Regions from separate parts of the Homo sapiens genome. Here region 2 is linked to region 1. The links are contacts of gene promoters, found by promoter capture Hi-C in blood cells and fetal thymus (Javierre and others, 2016). All regions are on one chromosome and are shown on one strand. Each heading gives the region's core, a stretch centred on a gene start or on the middle of the fragment in contact. The rest is flanking DNA. Distances are from core to core; before and after follow the strand shown. Region 1 holds the start of HBS1L (HBS1 like translational GTPase). Region 2 overlaps MYB (MYB proto-oncogene, transcription factor).

What was found. The method cuts DNA at HindIII sites, captures the fragments that hold promoters and counts their contacts. A CHiCAGO score of 5 or more calls a contact.
Region 2: a fragment that was not itself captured here is called in contact with the fragment with the promoter of HBS1L in region 1 in 2 of 17 cell types (naive CD4 T cells and non-activated CD4 T cells); the score reaches 6.1 in naive CD4 T cells.

What each region holds. Positions count from the first base shown.
Region 1 is chr6:135,050,895-135,057,650 of GRCh38, reverse strand. It overlaps HBS1L (HBS1 like translational GTPase), which reads left to right and starts at 2,829. Exons shown (of 18, transcript NM_006620.4): 1 at 2,829-3,002. The coding sequence starts at 2,960. LOC124901405 (a long non-coding RNA gene) reads right to left here and starts at 2,758. Exons shown (of 2, transcript XR_007059775.1): 1 at 2,165-2,758. RefSeq lists an enhancer at 2,621-2,670. The HindIII fragment of the contact is 2,164 bases long and covers 2,128-4,291 here.
Region 2 is chr6:135,208,876-135,215,631 of GRCh38, reverse strand. The region is part of intron 15 of MYB (MYB proto-oncogene, transcription factor); the gene reads right to left. It overlaps LOC105378011 (a long non-coding RNA gene), which reads left to right. Exons shown (of 3, transcript XR_001744368.2): 2 at 132-233. Among named protein-coding and RNA genes, the nearest start is that of MIR548A2, 27 kb to the left of the region's middle. The HindIII fragment of the contact is 587 bases long and covers 3,087-3,673 here.

The sequences.
Region 1 (6,756 bases), core at 1,580-4,079:
GACATTAACAATTCCATAGCAAGAGAAATGTCATTTTATTTCTCTTCTTTTACTCATTAATTCATTCAGCAAACATTTAAAGTGCCAGACATTAGGGTGCCGGAGAAACAAAGATAAAGCTTTGAAATTAGTAGGGGTAGAGAAGTGGCATTTACTGAGTACCCATTCTGCAACACCTACTGTTTTTACATATATCATTTACTTTTCACAAAACAGAAGACATACATTTTCATATATTCGATTTTACAGATGAAGACATTAAATCTGAAGTGGTTAACAGCAACAAAACTGGGACTGAAATCCAGGTTCGTGGTACTCCGAAGTCATAGTACTTTCCATCAAAACACAATACCAGAGTTTTATTCATTTATTTTTTGAGTCGGAGTTTTGCCCTTGTTGTCCAGGCTGGAGTGCAGTGGCACGATCTCAGCTCACTGCAACTCCTGCCTCCTGGGTTCAAGCGATTCTCCTGCCTCAGCCTCCCGAGTAGCTGGGATTACAGTCACCCACCACCACGCACAGCTAATTTTTTTTTATTTTTAGTGGAAGATGGGGGTTTCACCATGGTGGCCAGGCTGGTCTGGAACTCTTGACCTCAGGTGATCCACCCGCCTCAGCGTCCCAAAGTGCTGGGATTACAGGCGTGAGCCACGGTGCCCTGCCCACACCTTACAGAGTCCTGAGGGGAGTGGAACAATCCTAACTTTTTCTGAAGAAGTCAGTGAAGGCTTTGCCATTGAGGCTCTACTGTTTGAGATGCAGTAGATGCTGTGCAATATTTAGAGTTTTAAAGGAGTGCGTTATTGACGACCTAAGGGCAAATTATATATTATCTGACAGAAGTAACGTTTTCTTATTCATTGTTCCTGTAGTACTTTGCTTATGTGGTCTATAACTCATTCACTTCATACCTCAGTGAGTTGTAGTTAAGCTTGTAATTGACAATTACAGTGGAGTGGAAGCTGCCATTTGTATTTTAATAACACAATTTTTTTGGGGGGGTGCAGAGTCTCACTCTGTCTCCAGGCTGGAGTGCAGTGGCACAATCTTAGCTCACTGCAACCTCTGCCTCCCGGGTTCAAGCGATTCTCCTGCCTCAGCCTCCCGAGTAGCTAGGACTATAGGCACGCGCCACCATGCCTAGCTAATTTTTGTATTTTTAGTAGACAGGGAGTTTCACCATGTTGGCCAGAATGGTCTTGATCTCTTGACCTCATGATCCGCCTGCTTCAGCCTCCCAAAGTGTTGGGATCACAGGAGTCAGCCACCGCGCCCGGCCAATAACACAATATTTTTAAGCACCTACTATGATCTGTGATAAATCCTCTTATACGGATACATTATTCACAGCTCGCGAGTTAGTGTCTCTATCTCCTTTTTACAAAGAAACAGGCTGCAAAATAAAAATTACCTAAGGGTGTAAAATAATAAAAACACTTAAGCCATGTAACATTAGCAACTATCTCTATTTTTCTGTAAACTTTTATTTTGGAGCCACATTAAACAACTATTTTTGTAGTCAAACACATTCAAATGCATGAATAAATTACGTTCCAAGCCACTTACAAATATAAACTAAATTTGGATTACTCTTATTTCTTTCTATTGTGCATAGCAAAAAGCTGAGGAAGCTTTTAATTATCTCTAGAACTCAACATTTGCCTTTGATGTGAAGTATCATCATTTCAAAAACACAAGCTAAAACTGAAGTGGTGTTCAGTATAATGAGGTTGGTTTCTTATATAGCATTATTAACTTTATGTTCTGAGAAATGAGGACATTTAATAGCAGGTTATAGATTCATGCATCAACAACATTCAGCATTACCACCTAAGGCCAGTGCTATGTCTAAAAAGCTATATTTAATACTCGCAATGTTACACACAATTATGTCTTCAATGAATGTTCAGTGAATCCTTCTTTATGATGCTGATAAATATCGTCTATATAGCTAAAATCGTTTACATAGCTAAGGGCAAATCGCTGTTTACTAGGGATAGTAATGCCGAACGGAGTGAATACATGAAGTCGTAAATTATATGAATGCAGGGTGACCTAATATAGCCAGGGTCTCAATTTAATAATATATACCCGTTTAAAAATAGCCTTATTTCCTTCTCTAAAGCTTGGACTCTTTTTTTTTTTGAGATAAGGTCTCACTCACTTTGTCGCCCGGGCTGGAATGGAGAGGCCCGATCTCAGCTCACTGCAGCCTCGACCGCCTGGGCTCAGGGGATCCTCCCACCTCAGCCTCTTCAGTAGCTGGGACTACAGGTCTGCACCACAGGGCCGGCTAGTGTTTGTATTTTTTGTAGAGACGGAGCCTCGCTATGTTGCTCAGGCTGGTCTCGAACACCTGAGTTCAAGCGATCCGCCCTCCTAGGCTTCCCAAAGTGCTGGGATTACAGGAAGGAGCCACCGCACCGGCCTGGGCTAAATCTGATTCCAAGTTTACACAAGTTTGTTGAATGCCCACTGTGTGCTTAATGAAAGATCAAAGTTTGATAAAACAAGGTCCCTGCTCTTACTGAGCGCATAGCTTTCTCAGATTATCAGGAACCAAATTTGGAAAATAATCCAGAACGCTGGCGTAGGTAGCTCAAGGTTCCCCGCTTGCAACATTTAGTCCAAACCAGTCAATTCTAGGCGGCGGATTTCCCCATCCCCCTCCGTCGCCCAACCTTTGGGTGGGGCCACTCCCAAACGCTCCCTCCCCTCGTCCCGCCATGCACAGCAGTGCGCATGCGCCCTCAGGGAGGCGGACAGTGACCCTGAGGCATTGCCGTCGCGCGGTGCACAGCTAAGACGTCGCGCTTGCGCAGGCGCTCGGCGCAGAGGCCTGCGGGAAGCCAAGATGGCGCATAGGGGTTCTCCAGGCTGCAGTTGGCGCCTTATCAGTATCTAAGCGGAGTGTTTTGGAAGGAGTTAAGGGGCTGTGGCAAACGCCCTCTCCGCCGTCATGGCCCGGCATCGGAATGTTCGAGGCTATAACTACGATGAAGGTAGGTGGCAGGGTCATGCCGGGACGTTCTTTTCCCGGCTACAGCTGGGATCCTAGCCCGTTGGCATCCACTTCAATCTGTGAGTTTCTCGTCAGTGTTGCCCTGTCGGGATTGGGAGAGCCCCAGTTGGGGAATATAACAGGCCTTCTAGTGCTTTCAAATGCCGTCGTTTTTAAGTCATGATTTCTGCCCTCTGGGGTTGATTTTATTTGGGGAGGGGGAGGTGCTGCATAGCGTCATATGGGTAGGATATTGGTGAGGTTGAGATCCGGTGATATTTAGGCACGTAAGCATTATCACCTCTTCCATTGTTTCCTCCCATGTTGGGCACTAACGTGCCTGCTTCTAGCTCCTCTCTCCCAGATCCCCTTTGAGAAATGTCCATGAAACGTTGCTTATTTGTAAAACACAGATTGACTTAATACATTCAACGGACGTGTACCTGTGTTAGATTTACATGGTAAACCTTTTGTGTATGTCCATACATACCTAGTGCAGAATCAGTTTGCGCTAATTTATTTTTCAACGAATTTCAAAGTGGAAACTTAGGAGACGGTAGAAAAGACACATGTTAAAAAGGCCCAAAGAATGAGTCGATCAGATGGATCTTGAAGTTTATACTTAGTTCTTGGCTGGTAATGCTTGATATAAATGTATTTTGAAATGTAAATAAACGGCAGTACTAGAGGAAAGAGTGTATAGGAAAGGACTTTTTGATATTAAAAAATGAAATAAAAATGTCTGTATGAATGTTCTGTAGGAGTTAACAGGAGTTAGAATTATTTTTAGGAGGAGCACATCCCTCTTCATGCAGTAGATAACTATAGGCATCACCAAGCATCACATAAACTAAAAATATAAACAAAAATGAACTAATGCAGGAGAAGAATAAAGAACTATGCTTTACGAAGTGCAGAACATGTAGTGCTTAATATGTTGGTGATTGTCATTGGCACCCCAGTAGATTATTATAGAACATCAGTATGCTTTAACTAGAGTGAGGGCAGCTAACACCCTGTTCTCCATTTGGAACCTGTGACCTCAGTCCGTCTAGAACATGTGAATTTTCTGGTGGTTACTTTAGAATGGAGGCCCTTTTAAATAAATATTGCAGTGGATGGTATTGCATGTGGACCATTGTCACCTAAGAAATGACTTTAGATTGAGAGAGATTTTTGCAAATATAAAGTACATGAATAGGCCTATTTATTATTCATTCATTTCTTTAATAGTTGTTTATCATTTCCTCAACCACCATTAAGTTAGTGCTTAGAGTACTGTTCTAAGCTTTGAGGACTGAAAGTAAGATATTTGAGGGTGGTCTAAAAGGAGAAGATTATACGAGTTACAGATTATTAGAGTATGAAAAATGCTACAAAAGGTACTGAGAAAACGCTATGGGAGGGATACACAGATGAGAACACTTAATTCAGAATGGATTGGGGGGAATTTAAGCAGGATTTCTACGTTAAGGAATGCTTCATGGAGGAGAGGTGGTTGGCCTCAGGGAGCACCTTGGCTTCTTGAGGTTAGGTTGTCATGTTGTCATGCTTCTTTGAAACAATTGGTGACATCATAACCAAGCTGTTCCTGTAACATTAAGGAGGTTCATCCCCTTTTCTTGTTTATAAAAGTTGTACTCATTAAGGTCCAGTTTATTTCTCTTCTTCCCAGTTAGGCTTTCTCTTGAATTCTCAGAATAATAATTTAAAAATTCTGTTAAGAAATATAACCTCATTAGAGAGAGTTTGTGTTCTAAAACCTACTGGTTCCGCTACTTAACTCCCACTTTGTTTTTCTCTGTAATTTATGTAATACTTTACATGACTGCCTCAGTCACTGATTTAAAAGTCTCAGGAAGGCAAAATCCATACTTTAAGTAGCTGGCACAATGTTCTTTACATGTGGTAAATATTTCATAATTTTGTTGATTGAGGAAACAAACTATGAAGATTGCAGGAAAGAATTCTCTTCATCTTTATATGTTGTGGCACTTTAGGGTCAACTTCAGCATTGACAAACTGACCTAGTAAAAAAGAGTTTTTTTTCTTTTTTTTTTTTTTTTAAGAGACAGGATCGCACTTTGTTGGTTGGCCAAGCTGGAGTGCGAGTGCAGTGGCATGATCATAGCTCTCTGTAACCTCCAACTCCTGGGCTCAAGCAATCCTCGTGCCTCAGCCTCCCGAGTAGCTAGGTCTACAGGCATGTGCCCCCATGCCCGGTTAATTTTTTATTTTAGTAGAGACAGCATCCGGCTGTGTTGCCCAAGCGAGATCCTCCCTCCTCGGCTTCCCAAAGTACTGGAATTACAGGTGTGAGCCACGATGCCTGGCCTATTGTTGTCTTCAATATCTAAAAATACTTTGTTTGTGAATGGCCCCTTGTTTATTTGCAAATAAATTTTTATTAACTTGGGATTGTGATCTAATAATTTATTTAATCATATATGTTTTTGCCCAATAGTAGCATTTATCTAATTTTTCTTTGCTGTAAGCATTTGGTCTCAGCCTTTGAGCATGCTGTTCCTGCTGCATGAATACCCTCAGAAACTAGCTAACTCTATCCTTTGGAATTGGTTTGGATATTATATTAATGGGGATCTTTCCCTAGCTGCCCCACTCCCGGTTCTAGTTTTGTCATTCATGTGTGTGTTCCCAAATTGCTCTGTGTTTCTCACATCAGGCACTTGTCACATGGTTTTGTAATTGCCCATTATCTTGTGTGTATTCCTTGTCAGATTTTAGGTGCAGTGATAACTGGAAATGTGTTCACTGTTATACCACAGTTGTCTCAACTACTCCCTGGCATGGTGTTAGTGTTTGTCAAATGAAATTTATGTAAATATATTTATGTTCTTTGTGGGTTTTTAGTTGTAATTAGTTTGATTCATTAATTTATAATAAAACAAATATTAATCTAGTGCCCCATATGTGCCAGGTAGTTGGCTAAACCAAGTCTTGCCCTGAAGAAGCTGATAGTCTCATGTAGTGAACAGGCGTAGCGCTCTGTAAATTGGGTAAGTGTGCTGGAGGGTAACAGTAGCAGAGGGGCTTACTGCTTTACCCAGAGTGGTCAGGGAAGACTTGTGCAAAGAGGAGACATTTGAGCTGGAACCTTAACTAGCAGAAAGAAATGGCCTCGGAAAATCTAGGCAAAGAGCATATCCCAGGAAGCAGAAAAAAAGGGCAGTTAGCCATCAGCAGGTGGGCATAGGGAGTTTAGGGTAAGTTGGTTTGTATAGATGTTACCTAGCTCTCCATAAAGAAATACTACTTTCATGATCTATTATATACCCCCATGTTCTGTGGAAGAGAAGTGCTTTGGTTTTAGAGGGCACATGGTGAAAAAAATGGTTTATTTCAGATTTTTGTCAACACTGGAGAGACTAAGTATTTTTTTTTCTTTTTTTCTTTTTTTTTCTTTTTGAGACGGAGTCTTGCTCTGTCGCCCAGGCTGAGTGCAGTGGCGCGGTCTTGGCTCACTGCAACCTTGCCTCCTGGGTTCAAGTGATTCTCCTGCCTCAGCCTCCAGAGTAGCTGGGATTACAGGTGCACGTCACCATGTCTAGCTAATTTTTGTATTTTTAGTAGAGACGGGGTTTCACCATATTGGTCAGGCGGGTCTCAAACTCCTGACCTCATGATCCACCTACCTCGGCCTCCCAAAGTGCTGGGATTACAGGCGTAAGCCACCGTGCCTGGCCTCAAGTATATTTTTTATAGGATTATTGTATTTGATCCTATGAGGTGAAAAC
Region 2 (6,756 bases), core at 2,131-4,630, 160 kb before region 1:
AACGACAACATAAAACAAGCCCTCACTATAGGCACCGCATGCCTCTAAGTGTTATTGATATAACTCCTCTCATTTAATTCTCACACAAAACACCTGTGGCATAGCTACCATTCACTGCATCCATTTTACAGACCAGGCAATTTGAAAGGAAGAGAGGATTTAGGCGCCATACTCAAGGTTACCTGGGTAAGAAATGATGGAGCAAGAATGTCACCCATGGGACCACACCCCTGGTGAGTACCAGACGCTGCCTCTAATTCGAGTTCTTATCAGAAACAATAAAAGGAACCTGGGAAGTTGTGTGCTCAGGGCACCAGGGCCTTGGAATCCAGGAAAGTGCTGAGATGGGGTGTGAGAGTCACCAGACTTCTTAGCAAAGAAACATAATTCTACTAAAACAAGGTATGGGTACAGTGGTAGGGTTTCCTTGCCTAGTTGCTGCAACAAAGTTTCCTGACATAGGGTTTGCAGTGTAATGTTCTAGCTTTTAAACTTTCCTAGGGCACAAAGCTTGTGCCATCTCCCCACTGATGTCAACAGCACTGTCTATGAATAGAAATGTTCACTCTGCAAGCTCAGAGGCTCAACATATAACTTGAAATACTACATAGCAAGATGGATTATCATAATATTTTCCAGGAACTGAGTATCTCAAAAATGACAAGACAAAGATAACAGACAGGTATTCTGAATTGCCTTCTATTCCGAATTTAATGTTTTCCTAAACAAAATTACCAGGTTAGTTACAGTATTTGAAATAGTTCTGAATAAATCATGTTTCTCTAGCCTCAAGCATGCAGGTGAAATACGCATATCTCTCTGGTGTCTATCTGTCCATACAAATTCCCGAAACATGAAATTGACACAGGAAACCAATTAAAAAACAAAATTTAATGTTATCTTTTCAGTTACTGAGCTTGCATTTGTAGTCGCTACAACAGTGTGACATTTAATAGTGACTACTTGAGGGTGAATAGTTCAATATGGTGAATATGAAGTACGATGCAGGGCTTATGGCAAGGATTAGATGCACATGGAGCCAAGGACTTGGATCTTAAAGAACAAGTGACAAAACAGGAAGCAGAATGAAATATCTTAATATCATAATATCTTGTAGGTAAATTTAAATTTACATAAAGACACACATAGAAAAGAAAAATACTTGAAACAAATGGAGGGGAAGGGGAATGAAGGTGAGAATGGAGATGTGAGAACCAGGAAAGAAAGGATTGCTTCTGTTTTACTCTAGCTAAGAATTTTTCCAAAGTCTTTAAAATGGCCTATTAGAATTTTTTTTTTTCTATTTAGCTGGGCTTCAATCAATATAGAATTTTCTTGTCCATTTTTCTTTTTTTTAGATATAGGGCCTCATTCTGTTGCCCAGGCTGGAGTGCAGGGGCGTGATCACAGCTCCCTCAAACTCCTGGCCTCAAGCAAGCCTCCCGCCTCAGCCTCCTGAGTAGCTGGGACTACAGGAGTGTGTCACCATGCCCAGCTATGTTTTTTAAAAAAAATTTTTTGTAGAGAGCGGGGGTCTCGCTATGTTGCCTAGGCTGGTCTCAAACTCCTGGCCTCAGGTGATCTTCCTGCCTTGGCCTCTCATAGGGTTAGGATTAAGGATAAGCTACTACAACCAGCCAGAATTAATTTTCTAAATGCGTAAATTATCTTAAATGCTATGTTAAAACAATCTTATGCTTGCTATTACTATGCCTCCTGTTAAAAGTCAAGTTCTGTGTCTTTTTTGTTTTCGTTTTTGAGAGAGGGTCTTGCTCCTTGCCCAGGCTGGCATGATCACAGCTCACTGCAGCCTCCATATCCGGGGTTAAAGTTGATTCTCCAACCTCAGCCTCCTCAGTAGCTCAGACTACAGGCAGGTGCTACACTACACCTGGCTAATTTTTGTATTTTTGGTAGAGACAGGGTCTCGCTGTGTTGCACAGGCTAGTCTCAACCTCCTGGACTGAAGTGATCCACTTGCCTTGGCTTCCTAAAGTGCTGGGATTACAGGCATGAGCCACTACACCTGGCCTAAAAGTCAAGGTCTGATCCTTTGTAATATAGTCCTTAGGTTGACTCAGAATTCCCAAAGTCGATTCAGGAGAATCTAGTACTAAGTATTATCAACTGAATCTATTTTCAACTTGAAATCTGACTGTGTTCCTGTGAGATCCCCTACACAGCTCATCACTGTATTCATATTTAGCTCTTCCTCCAGGACTAGGTATTTAAAAATGAGATCAATATAAAGAAGGTACCATATATTTGTAATTAGAGTTCTGAGAGACCTTTCCAAATAGTTAGCTTCTCCTAAGTCAAAAGAGAATTTACCAAGAAACAAATAAAAATGAAATATCCAAATTCCAGAAAGCATAGCATTTCTGAGTCATATATCCCCTGAAGCTCAGAGCTAGGGCAGCCAAGATGACTTGGAACGCCTGATTCTCCCAGTATAGACAAACACCAGGATGTGGTAGCCACCATGTACGAGAACCACTGTGTGTAGGAACAAAAAGGCCACCAAGCATGAGCGAGGCAGCTCCTTTTCTGCACCAGGAAAGCACAAGACAAGCACATCTTACCACAATAAATGAAACAAACTGGTCAGAGTAGACATATGCCTATGTCGTGAAAGTCAAGGAAGATCAGAAGATTGAGTACTTTGGTACAAAAAAAAAGAAACGCTCCCTTTCTCCCATCTTACCTGAAGCCTGGGAGCCCCATGCCAACTTTTCATGCAGAAAGAATTATTTTGACAAAGGAAGATTAATGTCTTTGTGCTGGAAGAACATTTTTAAATACTGTCATACATATCTTTGCAAATTCTCCTTGTTCTCTCTCCCTAAACTTTAGTTTCATTTACCCTAAAGAACTGCTGAGAATTATGGGTTTCTGCATATGAATTCTTGTTAAGTTACTAACCCATGGTGCTCTTGCAGACATGTCACTCTATCATAATTCATTTCAACATTAATAATCCTACCCACACATCCTCCTCCTGTGGCCGGGGAGTCATCTCGCTTATCCTGTAATGTGCCTTTAATTGCCCCTGGGCAGAAGTGAACTATAAACAGTCTGTCAAAGCTTTAACTGGGATATCCTGTTAAAGCACTTTAAATAAATATTGCCATCTTTTGTAGAAAACAGAAGAAATAAAAAGAAACAAGACCATGTCCACAGGTGGTTTTCTGTCAGAATTAGATGATCTTCACATTTTCATTTAGAACATGAATAGTTTTTTCATCAAGCTGAACAAAAACGGTTCTTATTATTATATTCATACAGCAACTTCACCCAGTATCTGCTGGCTTCAAAAGCCTTGGCAAATTATGTGTTTTACAATTTGCTGACCTAATAAGAAACTTGTATAAACTAAAAAAAAAAAAAAAAAAAAAAAAAAAAAAAAAGTAAAACCAAAGCAACTCATCAGATGGTATCATGTTTTTATTGTGTTTTGTTTTAAAATAAGCAGGCATCAATGGTATATAAAACAGTAAAAAATAAGAATTTTCTGCTTATTCTATTTCACCTATCTGAAAAAAAAATACTTCCTCTGGACTAAAATTCTAAAAATGAGAATTCCTTCCCAAAGGGACATCTTTTGAAAAAATGGATCAGTTATAAGAGAGACTGTAGAAATCTTTAGTTGTCTTTGGAAAGTCAGAGATAAGCTTAAACTGAAATGTTGCTAAGGTAAGATTAATGGTTACCAAACTTTTCTCGAGAGTAAATGCTTCCCTAGGTTGGCACAAATCAATTAAATGACTCCAACTTCAGCACTACTGATTTTCTATAGAAAATAATCTTAAAAGTTAGGGAAATAAAAATCGAGATGGTGATTGGAAGTTGCCTCATCCACCAATGACTCCACTTCCCAAGCCTAACTAACAATTGCAAATGTGGATGGACCTTTCCCAAATTTGGAGTTTGTCCCCGATGTCTCTAGAGGTCTCTTCACCTTTCACGTTGATAGACTTTCTAAGTTTATATCATATAGCCTAGGGTGGCACAACTTTTTGCAATATCCTTTTCCTTAGTCACATATGAGTTCCAAACTATTAAGATTAAGACCAAGTGCCAAATTGCTCTAAAGCAATTCTATCTTTGCTGGCCTGCCCAAGGAAGATTTTTATCTCAGAATGTTTATTCTCTCTAAGTGTCACCAAACAAAACAAATGAAAAATTCACATCTCAAAATGTCTGGGGCAGGGCATTCTGACTCTGAGCTCAACATAGCTTCTCCCTTCACTTAGCCCTTCTCAGTTCAACCCAAAAGCTATACACAGAAAAGCTGCTTAATTTATAACATTTTTTGAAAGCAGGTCACTGAATTACTACTGACAGCCACGTGAATTTCTGCCAGGGTAAGTGGAAAAAAGTGACCAAAAGGGAGAACCAAATGAGTGTGCAGGCATCCAGGGGAGCGGGTCAGCACAGCACACTAGATGAAAAAGGCTCGGAAAGATCTCTGTCGTGTGCAGACGGTTTCCATGTCTGTTTAAATGACAACACGAACAGCAGAAAAATAGAGAAAACCAGTAAATCAGTTGCTTCATCTCCATCATACCGCGAGGTCTGACTACCTTTATTTCAAGGAATCAGTTGAATCAGCTCTCTCTTTTGGTGACCCACTGACACAGTTCTGTAAGAGTGGGACAGGGAATAGCATGCCAGAGGAAATAATATACCACAATGAAAAAAACAAACAAAAACCCGAAAAACAAAAAACCACCCTGGCCTTTGGTGAGGGCTCCTTGCCTGCATTTCAAGGACAGGGACTATGTGGCGACTCTGCCTAATAATATCACCTGTGTATAGTGGCAAGTGTGCCGCCATCTTGAAAGCAATATTATATCCATTTGATCTTCACAGTAACCTGTGTGATGAGTGAAGGATATTCCATGGTCCCAAACTTATACTTTGCTTAATTGTGTTCACTTGATGAATTAAAGTCATGCCGTTTGAAAACAGTGGAGTCTAGCCTGGAACCCAGGTTCTGTTGCCCCCATGCTTGTTTATTATACTGCTCAGCAGTGCCTATCAGGCAAAAAGGGCTTGCCTTATTTTTTTGAAAAATATAAAAGTTCATAGACAAATAACAAAATAGGAGCAATCTAAAACACGCTGAACCGAAAGCTGAGGGGAGTATCAACTGCTAGCAACATTTTTAAATTCTTTGATACTGTGTAAATGTGTTTAAATAATAATGGCTGGAGAAATTTCTTTAACTTAAACTCCTTGTTTTAAAAAAGTCAGGCCATGGGCAAGCCAAGTCAGGAAATTAAAATTTAAGGCTGTCATTCTGTGGTTACGAAAAAGAGGCAAGTGAGTGAGTAGAAAGCCTATGAACACATCTTTTACACTTGGGTTTTAAATAGGAATAAAAGGAAATTATAATTTAAGAGAAAAATACAGAAGTTCAGAAGGCTTATAACTTAAAGCACGGTTTTTGATCTACCAATAAAAATGTCTACCTTAAGGAAAGTTGATTAGCATAATGTGCTTTTTTCAAAACAAAGGAAATGGAAAGCACGCTGAGGAAAGCAGGCAACTCTTTTCTCCTTGCTGAGGAGGGAGCTATGCGTCTGCCTCGGTCTCTCTCGGGTAACTACTGAAGGGCAGAATCCAGCAGCATTCCACAGTGCCTTTCATACCACAAATGCACGCTTTCTAGGCTGAATGTTTTCTCTACTTCCTCATTTGTGACCATTTTATAAGCTTCTAGACTCTATCCTCTACCCCACACAATGTGGAGAAAAGGCTGAATACTGACAATGATATGACATGAAAATCTCATATATTCTGAGCCACATGAAAGACACAAATATGAAAAACATCTCAGAACATTTTTATTATAAGAATATCCTGTTTGCTTTTACAATTTAAAATTAAAACAACTGTGAAAATATAAAAGAAACATAACAATTATAAGATTATGTAGCTGTTGCAAATTCCTTTTGGAAAAAGACTAAGTAATTAAAAAAACAAACATAACATGAGTGTACATAATGGCTTATAAAAGCCTCTATTTAAGCACTGTAGATTATAGATTAGGGGATACATGGAGAGCTCTGGATTATTAAAATTCACTGAGTCTTGGCTAGGTGTGGCAGCTCACGCCTGTAATCCTAGCACTTTGGGAGGCTGAGACAGGCAGATCACCTGAGGTTGGGAGTTTGAGCCTGGCCTGGCCAACATGGTGAAACCATGTCTCTACTAAAAATACGAAAATTAGCTGAGTGTGGTGGTGGGTGCCTGTAATCCCAACTACTTGGGAAACTGAGGCAGGAGAATAGCTTGGACCAAGGAGGTGGAGGTTGCAGTAAGCCAAGATTGTACCACTGCACTGCAGCCTGGGTGACAGAGTGAGACTCTGTCTCAAAACAAAACAAAAAAAATTATTTGTATCTCAATGACAAACCACATAACAATGGACAGACTTAGCACCCTGATTTTGGTGTCTATGTACCATTTCTCACTAAGAGGATTCAGAGCACCATGGGGAAATGGCTGATTCCAGTAAGAGAGTAAGGAAATGTGGCTATTAAATTAAAGCAACTTAAATTAATTCAAATTGAAAATTCTGCTCCTCAGCAGCACTTGCCATATTTCAAGTGCTCAAAAGCCACTGGCTATCATAGTGGATAGCAGCATATTAGATATTTCCTTCACATCACTGTAGAAGTTCTATTAGACAGCACTGGACTAGAGAGTAAAAGAGATTTAAGAGGCTTAACCAAATGCAATGTGTGAAAT